Regions from separate parts of the Homo sapiens genome. Here region 1 is linked to region 2. The links are contacts of gene promoters, found by promoter capture Hi-C in blood cells and fetal thymus (Javierre and others, 2016). All regions are on one chromosome and are shown on one strand. Each heading gives the region's core, a stretch centred on a gene start or on the middle of the fragment in contact. The rest is flanking DNA. Distances are from core to core; before and after follow the strand shown. Region 1 overlaps YIPF6 (Yip1 domain family member 6). Region 2 holds the start of STARD8 (StAR related lipid transfer domain containing 8).

Region 1 (5,916 bases), core at 1-2,500, 120 kb before region 2:
TCAGCGTCCCAAGTAGCTGGGATCCTCCTGCCCCAGCATCCCGAGTAGCTGGGACTACAGGCATGTGCTACTATGCCTGGCTAATTAAAAAAATTTTTTTTTTTGTAGAGATGGGGTCCCACTGTATTGCCTAGGCTGGTTTTGAACTCCTGGGTTCAAGTGATCCTCCCACCTTGGCCTCCCAAAATGCTGGGATTACAGGCATGAGCCACCATACCTGGCCTCATATTTTGTTTTAAAGAAAAATCAAACTAAATAAGGGCCAAAGAGAAGTGTTCTTAAAACCACTACCACTGTACAGAGATAACCTTGTTAAGTTAAATTATCTTAAATTATCAGAGGTCCTTTGATAAGCTTCAGATGCCCTTTCCAGGCCCTGAAATCATAGGCAGACTTTTTTGTGTAAGAAGAGTATGTACGTTTTGGGGGGCAAGTGGTCCCTAGCTTTTAACAAATTCTCAAGTATAATAGGTCTATAAACTAGAAAGGATTAAGAACCACTACCTTAGAGGTTCAGAGAAAGATATCTGTAGGAACTAGAGCAGATCATCTGGTGTTAGATGATTGACTTTTAAGGAATTTGAGAGGAGAGGAGGAAGAGTATGGGGAAAGAAAATTAAAGCATGTACTTAATTTTTTTTTTTTTTGAGATGGAGTCTCGCTCTGTCCAGGCTGGAGTGCAGTGGCACAAGCTCAGCTCACTGCAACCTCCACCTCCCAGGTTCAAGCGATTTTCCTGCCTCAGCCTCCTGAGTAGCTGGGATTACAGGTGCCTGCCACAATGCCCGGCTAATTTTTTTTTGTATTTTTAGTAGAGACGGGGTTTCACCATGTTGGCCAGGCTGGTCTTGAACTTCTGACCTCAGGTGATCCACCCCCCCACCCTTGGCCTCCCAAAGTGTTGGTATTACAGGCGTGAGCCATCGCGCCCAGCCAAAAGCATGTACTTAATAATTAATGTTAGGATGTAGATGTTATGTACCAAGAAGGAGGCAACATTCCGTTACATAGAGAAATCTATGTAATAAGCTGTGTCATAACACCCATCAGTTGTATTTATGATCTTTATTAATGTATTTTGTTTTTAAGATCTTTTTTTCAGAGCCTCTGTGTGCTGGGTTACTGTATACTTCCCTTGACAGTAGCAATGCTGATTTGCCGGCTGGTACTTTTGGCTGATCCAGGACCTGTAAACTTCATGGTTCGGCTTTTTGTGGTGATTGTGATGTTTGCCTGGTCTATAGTTGGTAAGTATGTACTTATTTCCACAATAACAGAACAGACAAAAACATGATTTAATGATGAAGACCAGATGAGGAGCAGTATAAGTCCAAAGTTAGATGTGAGTGATATGATTCTTGATAGTATTATCCATAGAACCCTCTTCCCTGAGTAGGCAATGATGGGGCTTATCTGAGTTGGATATCTGGACTTATAAGATGTGGAGAGTCACATCTTTTTTCTTTCTTTAAAAAAAAAAAAAGGTTGGGAAAGTGGATTACACTACATTTAGCCTAGTCCTGGTATATACAAGGCATTAGGTGACTTGTGGAATGACTGGGATCTTTTCCTGATAAACTAATTAAAATAAAAATAATAACATTTACAGATTGCTTATCAAAGGCCAGGCACTGTTTAAGTGCTTTATATATATTATCCCATTTAAGCCTCACAGCAACTCTAATAGAGAAATACTGTTATTAGTCCCATCTTACAGATGAAGAACAGTTACAGAGAAGTTGAGCAGCTTGCCCTAGGTTGCATTACTTGTGAGTAAGAGAGTCAAATTGCAAACCAGGCAGTCATGAACCTTTAAGAACTATACTATACCACCTTCCAGTGTAGATTGTAAGTATCATTATATAGCACTTTTCTGCTTCAGTAGAACATTTTGCTAAAGACTAGGAAGGGCCTATAGCAATGATAATGAATGCTATGTGCTCATTGTTTTTATATTCCTAAAGTTCTCTTAAGATTCCAGCTTAAATTTAGAAGTGTTCACTAGCTTCTGCTTTAATGGATAGGCAGACTGCTTAATATTTTTAAGTGTAGTAACATCTCATTGCTCTGGAACATGGTTGAAAGCTAAGAAGTAATCCAACAAAGGTCTGAGAGAGCCAGAACTGATATTCCAAAGACTGTATATTAAGCTTGGGTGCTTTTCCCATGGGGAGAGCCCCTCATTCTCTCACTGAGAATCTCATAATTACCATAAATGTAATTATACTTACTTAGTTATCCAGTGTCCAGGCTCACAGGTGATCACGAAGTAGAATCATAGGAGAGAGAAACTTTAATTCAGCAAACATTAATCACAAACTATGCGTCAGGCATAATTTTAGGCATGGTCTTTGTCCTTGGAGTTCACAATCTAACAGAGCAGCCCGACGTGAAAACATTTAAAGGCAATAGGTGTTCTAAGTGGGAAATGGAGATTTATACACAGTACAGTGGGACAGACATGATTATTCAGGAAAGATTTCCCAGAGATGTGATGATGATGATGATTAGTATTTGAGACAGAGTCTCACTCTGTCACCCAGGCTGGAGTGCAGTGGCACTATCTCGGCTCACTGTAACCTCCACCTCCTGGATTCAAGCAGTTCTCCTGCCTCAGCCTCCCGAGTAGCTGGGATTACAGCTATGTGCCACCACATCCGATTAATGTTTGTGTTTTTAGTAGAGATGGGGTTTCACCATGTTGGCCAGGCTGGTCTCGAACTCCTGACCTCAGGTGATCCACCCGCCTTGGCCTCTCAAAGTGCTGGGATTACAGACATGAGCCACCGCACCTGGCTGATTATTTTCATTTATTTATTTATTTGGCTAAAAATATATATATATATATATGTTTTTATATTATTATTATACTTTAAGTTCTGGGATACATGTGCAGAACATGCAGGTTTGTTACATAGGTATACACATGCCATGGTGGTTTGCTGCACCCATCAACCCATCATCTACATTAGGTATTTCTCCTAATGCTATTCCTCCCCTAGCCCCCCCAGCCTCTGACAGGCCCCAGTGTGTGATGTACCCCTCCCTGTGTCCATGTGTTCTCATTGTTCAACCCCCACTTATGAGTGAGAACATGTGGTGTTTGGTTTTCTGTTCCTGTGGTAGTTTGCTGAGAATGATGGTTTTCAGCTTCATACAAAGGATATGAACTCAACCTTTTACGTGGCTGCATAGTATTCCATGGTGTATATGTGCCACATTTTCTTTATCCAGTCTATCATTGATGGGCATTTGGGTTGGTTCCAAGTCTTTGCTATTGTGAACAGTGCAGCAGTAAACATAGGTGTGCATGTGTCTTTATAGTATTACCCAGTAATGGGATTGATGGGTCAAATGGTATTTCTGGTTCTAGATCCTTGAAGAATCGCCACACTGTCTTCCACAATGCTTGAACTAATTTACACTCCCACCAACAGTGTAAAAATATTTCTATTTCTTCACATCCTCTCCAGCATCTGTTGTTTCCTGACTTTTTAATGATAGCCATTCTAACTGGCGTGAGATGGTATCTCATTGTGGTTTTGATTTGCATTTCTCTCATGAGCAGTGATGATGAGCTTTTATTCATATGTTTGTTGGCCGCATAAATGTCTTCTCTTGAGAAGTGTCTGTTCATATCCTTCGCCCACTTTTTGATGGGGTTGTCTTTTTCTTGTAAATTTGTTTAGGTTCTTTGTAGATTCTGGATATTAGCCCTTTGTCAGATGGATAGATTGCAAAAATTTTTTCCCATTCTGTAGGTTGCCTATTCACTCTGATGATAGTTTCTTTTGCTGTGCAGAAGCTCTTTAGTTTAATTAGATCCCATTTGTCAGTTTTGGCTTTTGTTGCTATTGCTTTTGGTGTTTTAGTCATGAAGTCTTTGCCTATGCCTATGTCCTAAATGGTACTATCTAGGTTTTCTTGTAGGGTTTTTATGGTTTTAGGTGTTACATTTAAGTCTTTAATCCATCTTGAGTTAATTTTTGTATAAGGTATAAGGAAAGGGTCCAGTTTCAGTTTTCTGCATATGGCTAGCCAGTTTTCCCAACACCATTTATTAACTAGGGAATCCTTTCCCCATTGCTGGTTTTTATCAGGCTTGTCAAAGATCAGATGATTTTGGATGGGAGGCATTATTTCTGAGGCCTCTGTTCTGTTCCATCGGTCTATATATCTGTTTTGGTACCAGTACTGTGCTGTTTTGGTTACCATAGCCTTGTAGTATAGTTGGAGGTCAGATAGAGTGATAACTCCAGCTTTGTTCTTTTTGTTTAGGATTGTCTTGGCTATATGGGCTCTTTTTTGGTTCCATATGAAATTTAAAGTAGTTTTTTCTACTTCTGTGAAGAAAGTCAATGGTAGCTTGACGGGGATAGCATTGAATCTGTAAATTACTTTGGGCAGTATGGCCATTTTCATGATATTGATTCTTCCTATCCATCAGCATGGAATGTTTTTCCATTTGTTTGTGTTCTCTCTTATGTCCTTGAGCAGTGGTTTGTAGTTCTCCTTGAAGAGGTCCTTCATATCCCTTGTAAGTTGGATTCCTAGGTATTTTATTCTCTTTGTAGCAATTGTGAATGGGAGTTCACTCATGATTTGGCTCTCTGTCTGTTATTGGTATATAGGAAGGCTTGTGATTTTTGCACATTGATTTTGTATCCTGAGACTTTGCTGAAGTTGCTTATCAGCTTAAGGAGATTATGGGCTGAGACGATGGGGTTTTCTAAATATACAATCATGTCATCTGCAAACAGAGACAATTTGACTTCCTGTCTTTCTATTTGAATACCCTTTATTTCTTTCTCTTGCCTGATTTCCCTGGCCAGACTTTATGTTGAATAGGAGTGGTAAGAGAGGGTATCCTTGTCTTGTGCTGGTTTTCAAGGGGAATGCTTCCAGCTTTTGCCCATTAAGTATGATATTGGCTATGGGTTTGTCATAAATAGCTCTTATTATTTTGAGATACGTTCCATCAATACCTAGTTTATTGAGAGTTTTTAGCATGAAGCGGTGTTGAATTTTATCAAAGGCCTTTTCTGCATCTGTTGAGATAATCATGTGGTTTTTGTCATTGGTTCTGTTTATGTGATGAATTACGTTTATTGATTTGCATATGTTGAACCAACCTTGCATCCCAGGGATGAAGCTGACTTGATCATGGTGGGTAAGCTTTTTGATATGCTGCTGGATTCAGTTTGCAAGTATTTTATTGAGGATTTTCACAGTGATGTTCATCAAGGATATTGGCCTGAAATTTTCTTTTTTTGTTGTGTCTTTGCCAGGTTTTGGTTTCAGGATGATGCTGGCCTCACGAAATGAGTTAGGGAGGAATCCCTCTTCTTCTATTGTTTGGAATAGTTTCAGACGGAATGGTACCAGCTCCTCTTGTACCTCTGGTAGAATTTAGCTGTGAATCTGGCTGGTCATGGGCTTTTTTTGATTGGTAGGCTATTAATTACTGCTTCAATTTCAGAACTTATTATTGGTCTATTCAGGGATTCGACGTCTTCCTGGTTTAGTCTTGGGAGGGATTATGTGTCCAGGAATTTATCAATTTCTTCTAGATGTTCTGGTTTATTTGCATAGAGGTATTTATAGTATTCTCTGATGGTAGTTTGTATTTCTGTGGGATCAGTGTTGATCTTCAATTTATCAGTTTTTATTGTGTCTATCTGATTCTTCTCTCTTTTCTTCTTTATTAGTCTGGCTAGCGGTCTATTTTGTTAATCTTTCCAAAAAAAACAGTTCCTGTATTCATTGATTTTTTGAAGGGTTTTTCTTGTCTCTATCTCCTTCAGTTCTGCTCTGATCTTAGTTATTTCTTATCTTCTGCCAGTTTTTGAATTTGTTTGCTCTTGCTTCTCTAGTTCTTTTAATTGTGATGTTAGGGTGTCAGTTTTAGATCTTTCC
Region 2 (5,882 bases), core at 2,254-4,753:
TACGCTGAATGATACACTCTCCATATCCGCCACCCAAAGAAAGCAGATTTCATTACTGCTATGCCAGTTGTGTCAGGCCTTGAGTGTGAGGCAAGGGAGAACCTGCCTGATTCAGATCCCCCATGGGGTATATGGGGAAGAGGGATATGAGGAGGGAGGACTTGTGTTAACTGAGAGAACCCACTTCACATCAGGTCCTGCATGTTCCTTCTTCCTTTTTTTTTTTTTTGTTTCTTTTTTCTTTTTTTTTTTAGACATTTGAGACGGAGTTTCGCTCTTGTCGTCCAGGCTGTAGTGCAATGGCGTGATCTCGGCTCACTGCAACCTCCGCCTCCTGGGTTCAAGCGATTCTCCTGCCTCAGCCTCCTGAGTAGCTGGGATTACAGGCATCCACCACCATGCCCAGCTAATTTTTTGTATTTTTAGTAGAGACAGGGTTTCACCATATTAATCAGGCTGGTCTCGAACTCCTGACCTCAGGTGATCTGCCCATCTCGGCCTCCCAAAGTGCTGGGATTATAGGCGTGAGCCACCGCGCCGGGCCTGTTCCTTCTTTCTTAATGACAAACCTGGGAGGTGAGTAGAGATCTTTATCCTTATTCTCCTATTATAGCCATGGAAACCAAAGGTCCCAGAGGTAATGTGACTTGTCTAAGGTGGTTATGCAACCAAAAAAGTAGCTGGGCTTGGATCTAAAGTCATATCTAATAATGTCAAATCAATGCTCCTTCTGCTTTACCAGAAGCAGGGAGAGCCAGGAGCGTTCAGGACAAGACGAGAGAGGAAGGGAGCTAACATTTATTGAACATTTACTATGTGCCAAGCATATGTTATCTCATTAACTCCTAACAGCAGTCCCCTTATGTAAGCAGTGACTCTCAGTTTACAGATGAGGAAACAGGCTTAGGGAAGGGAAGTGGCTTTTGTAAGGGTACACTGTTAGGAGGTAGCAGAACCAGGATTCAAATCTAAGTCTGTCTGGCTCCAAAGCCTCTGCTTCTTCAATAATACCAAATGAGATTTATTTTTATTTGTTAATTGTTTATTTATGATGAGACACCATTTCTTAACCCACATATTCATATTTCATAGTTCAGGAACACAGGTCTGTGACCAACTTCTATGTAATTCAACCCAAAGAAATTCTTTATATTCCAAAATCACTTTGTACTCTGAAATGTACCAACCTTCCTCATCTCCTCAAAATCTTTTATGGAATCATAATTTCTGTAAAAATCTGCACATGCCTTCTTCCTTGGTTTGGTCAGAGCAAACATAGAGAGCTGCAACCCTCAGGGAAGCAACAAATGCTCCAATAATATGAAACCCATGTGTCTGAGGTTTCATCAAAGCACTGGAAGCCATGGTAGTTATTATCCTTGATAGGTATGTCAACCTCAACACCAATATCCTTCCTGGCTGATGGAGAATGAGCCACAAATAACATATATTGAGAACGTACTTTATGCCAGACACTATACTACATGCTTTAATTCATTCTGTTTAAACCTCCCAAAGGAAGTAGGTACTATTATTATTCCCCATTTTACGGATGGGCACACTAAGGCAGTAACAGGCCCAAGGTCACCAGTTAAAGAGTAACAGAACTAGTATTGAATCCAGGCAGTCAACTTCCGAGTTCATGGCTTAAAACCACCTCAAGACAAAACTGGTGTGAGAGACCCAGAATTGAAACTGAAGTCTCCTGGTTTCTTAGCTTAATGTGGTGTGCTGCGCACTAATGCCTCCTGAATGAATGCCCAAAGGCACGGCTGACACATCTCCTCCCAGGGGCTGGAATGGAAAGAAGGAGGTGAACTCCAGAGAGTGAAAGACTATGAGGCCATCCTAGGAGGGCAGGCAGCTTTTCCTGTAATAGTTGCTTCCCAGTTCTCCATCCTCAGGTCTCTGGCTGCAGGGCAGGAGGGCATATGCTCAAAGGAGAAAACTCTCTCTGGGCTCTGACTCCTCGTGTTATTCCTCCCCCACATGCAGAGGGCTTCCCCTTATAAGCCTGTGCTCAGCTGGACGTGGGTTGGAAGCCACTTACCTTGGCTCTTGCTGACCATCTTCCCGACACAGCCCAACAGAACTCACATCTGAGACACCCCTGAGGTCGGAGCTAGAGAGAGGGTGAGGTCAGTGATTGCAGCCTCCTTGGTACAAACGAGGAAACTGAGGGTCACAGAGTAAGTTGTAAACAGAGCTGGGGGGACCCTCACAGAGCCTCTGGACAAACCTCCGGACAAAGCCACTGATGAAGAAAGTCCCCGAAGGCAGGTAGAGGCTTGCTTAAAGCAACCTAGGACCTTCCAGGGTCCCAGGACCTGGCTGTTTGCCTGACTAGCTTGGGTCTCTGAAACAGAAGTGAGGCCAGGGAGAGTTAGTTATTCTGGGCCTCATGATGACATGTGCCTCCAGAGACCCAAGCCTGGCCTTTTGCCATGGGGTCCCTGGGAGCCTTCTGGCTACCAGCCATGGCACCCTGCCTTCTGATGTCTGGGGAGGGGCTGAGAGAGGGGGAGGGTCACTGCTTCTTAATGGCTTTCTGCCCAGAAAGCCTCTAGAACTGCCTGCTGCTGACTTTCTTTCCTTTCAGGGCATCCAGAGGGTTCAAGTTTAGATTTCAGGCTAAACTTCTGGGCTTAGAGGGTCCTGAGCATGGGACTGGATAAAGGAGGGAAGCCATCATCTCTTCAGAAGATGTTCAGAAAAGGGCATACACCCAGTCTATCTGAGCTGGGAGAGAGCTGCTGTTATGCCCTGGGGCAGGGGGATGGATGAAATGGCATTTGAGGGCTCAGATTCTCTTTGGGGCAAGACCTGACTTCCTATGGACTCCCAGGAGCAGCAGGGGAGTTCTGAGAGGAACTGTGATTGTCCAGAGTGGAGTTTCTTTGAGACTTGCCCTGTACCTAACCCCAAACAGATTTGATACTTAGAGACCTCTAACCCGGCATCTCATTGTACAGCTGGGAAAACTGAGACCCAGGAGGAAGGGGCCTCTCCGAGATGCCACAGTGAGTCAAGAGTCCTCACTTCAGAGGGCTGGAGAATAATCTACTGAGGCAGGGCCAGGGCACCTGTCTGAGAGGGGCTTCTAAGGCTGCAAGCTTTTCCCCTTCCGTGGACTGCATTCACACCTTGTTCGGTCCTGCTGGGGCCGGGGCTCTCCTTCCTTGCCCCTTTTCCTTGGCACTCTTTCCACAGGCCCTGTGTGGTCTGGGCTCTACCGAGAGGTCCCCAAGGAGAGCTGGCGTGTCAGTCAGCCAAGAAGCAAGCAGGCAGGCAATGCCAGCATGCAGGTGGCGGGGCTGGCAGGGGAGCCGGCAGGAGGGCCGGACACCCGGAGCCGGGGAACTGTAATGTTCAGGGAATTTCAATTGGCATTGCTGTCCCGTTCCAGCCAACTGGCTAACGGTGCCGAGTTTGAATCAGTGACCCGCCTCCTGGTCCCTCCTCCTTAGCCGGCCTCTCTCCCTCCCTCCTTTTTTCCCTCCCTCGGTGGCCTTCCAGGAGGCGGGAGGCGCCCGCTGTCGAGGCAGCTGAGCCCCGGCAACCGCTGCTCTCCGCCTCTCCCCTCGCGGGGCCGGCTCATGGAGCGCAGGGACCGGGCTGGCTCTCGCCGAGCCCCGGGCCTCTTTTAGCCTCGTCCCCAGAGAGGGAGGAGCCGGTGCCCGGCACAGCCCCGCCGGCCCTAGAAGCTCCCCACGCGCCACCATGCCTCTGCTGGACGTTTTCTGGTCTTGCTTCAGGAAGGTGAAGGTAAGTGACTGGCCAGCCCCAGCCCATCCCGCTGCTCAGGGGGGAAGGAGGCAGATGTGGACCACTGCGCACCAGCTGGGAAAACGGACCAGACGGGCTTCTGAGACTACCTGAGGCTCTCGGAGTTAGAAAGGCTTGGGTTCAAGTCTCACCTTTGTCACTTAACCAGTTCTGTGACCTTCTGTTGCATTCCCATACAAACAAGTCTGCTAGTTGGCTCTTTTTAATAAAACTCGCCTCTGTTGCTTCCTGGATCTTGCCACAAAGGCAAGATACTTAACCTCTCTGAACCTCAGTTTCCTCTCAGCTTTAGAATGAGGACCATAGTAACACCAACCTTACGGGGTGATGAGGTTGGTGTTATTGTTTACATAGCAAATGTATGCAAATCCAGGAGATAATGTGTGTAAGCTTCCTAGCAGGATGCCTGGTGTGGAGCATCCACACAAACAATGGTATCTATTATTATTATTATTATTAATTTCTATCCATATATATAAAAGCACATACTCTGTGCTAGGCACCACTGGAGCTACACAAAGACAAAAAAGGGCTGGACACAGTGGCTCACGTCTGTAATCCCAGCATTCTGGGAGGCCGAGGTGGGAGGATCACTTGAGGCCAGGGGTTCAAGACCAGCTTAGGCAACATAAGGAGACCCCCATCTCCATTTTTTAAAAGAAGACAAAGAAGGACATGGCTTTTGTCCTCAAAGAGAATATAAGAAAAGTGACAAATATTTACCAGGCACCTACTATATGCCAGACATTGTGCTAAATAGTCAGTTTGTCAGTAAATATTTGTTGAGTGTCTACTATATCCTGGCCATGGGGGATACATGAGCACAGCCGAACCCACAAGTGTGTGTAAAGCATGATTCCACTCTCAAGAACCAAGAAACTAATATTTATTTAGTATCCACTATGTACCAGACCTAGGCACTTTTAATTCATTCATGTGGCAGTGATCCTCAGCACAACCCATTGTTTTCCTGCTTTTATAGATAGGGAAAAGACACTGTGAATAGTTAAGAAATATTTACAAGGTTGCTCAGATATGACTGGCAGAGCTGGGATCTGAGCTCCTAAGTCCATGCCTTTCTTGACGCTGTGTGGTTTCCCACAGTCCAACCCAGTAGGAAGACTTTCAAACGACTAGCCTGACTGTAAGACAGGATGAAAGAATGCTGGGACCTTTGGGAAGGAAAGATCCATTCCACCGGGAGGGACTTGGAGAGGTTTCACAGGAGGTCACATTTGGGCTGAGCCTGAGGCTTAAAGGAAGAGAAGAGTTTGTCAGTCCAAAAGTGGGGGAAGGGCATTCCAGGCATGCCTGGCAGAGGGAACTTCGTGAGCTAGAGTTTGGAGGCAGTCAAATGGTAGTGGGCTGGGGGAAAGGCTTCTTTCGTGATGTGGCTCAAATGTAGGGTTAGAGAGGATAGGAGCTTGAGAAAGGGAAGCAGAGACTACTTCCCAAAGGGTTTGGAATTAATCTGTGGATTCATGGTCCTCATCTAGTAGGGGTCCTGAATGAGATTTTTCAACCATCTGTGGTGGAATGAGAGAAAAGTAGGGATAATGTCGTGCAGTGTTCATAAAACTAAATTAATTCAACTCAAAGGACTATTCTTTATTTGGAGACTGTTGTGTCCTTCCTGTGGGGGTGGGGATTCAAATGATCTTTCTCCTACAAAATATGAGTGAGAAATTTTTTAAATGTCTGCCCTCAGCAAAATTACAAAGTTTGCGACATGCTGATTGTTTCCCTATTTATTTATTTAAGAACACTTTCCTCATCCATGAAATCTGAAAGTCTGGTGACTACTGTTTTGGGGAATAAGGGGCTGATTTCAGCATAATAGGGATATAATTAAGTGGACGGTTTTAGAAAAAGCACTCCAGCAGTAGTGGGCAGGGATGGTGTGGAAGGGCCCAAGTGGAGATGCAGAGGCCAGGAAGGAGGCAGCTGCAGTGGAAATAAGGATGGGAGAGGAAGAAATGATAGAGAGCTGGATGGAATGATAATGACGAGGGAAGGGAAAATTAAAGTGCCTTTGAGGTTTGACGCCCGAGAGGCACCTCTGTCCCCTACCCCAGTTAACTGTTCTAGGTGCTTGG

The links. The method cuts DNA at HindIII sites, captures the fragments that hold promoters and counts their contacts. A CHiCAGO score of 5 or more calls a contact.
Region 1: a contact is called between a fragment that was not itself captured here and the fragment with the promoter of STARD8 in region 2, in 1 of 17 cell types (M0 macrophages). The highest score is 5.5, in M0 macrophages.

What each region holds. Positions count from the first base shown.
Region 1 is chrX:68,521,671-68,527,586 of GRCh38, forward strand. YIPF6 (Yip1 domain family member 6) reads left to right here. Exons shown (of 7, transcript NM_173834.4): 6 at 1,090-1,247. Among named protein-coding and RNA genes, the nearest start is that of YIPF6, 26 kb to the left of the region's middle. The HindIII fragment of the contact is 1,796 bases long and covers 353-2,148 here.
Region 2 is chrX:68,644,163-68,650,044 of GRCh38, forward strand. It overlaps STARD8 (StAR related lipid transfer domain containing 8), which reads left to right and starts at 3,504. Exons shown (of 15, transcript NM_001142503.3): 1 at 3,504-3,765. The coding sequence starts at 3,721. It also overlaps the pseudogene COX6CP12. The HindIII fragment of the contact is 1,063 bases long and covers 3,112-4,174 here.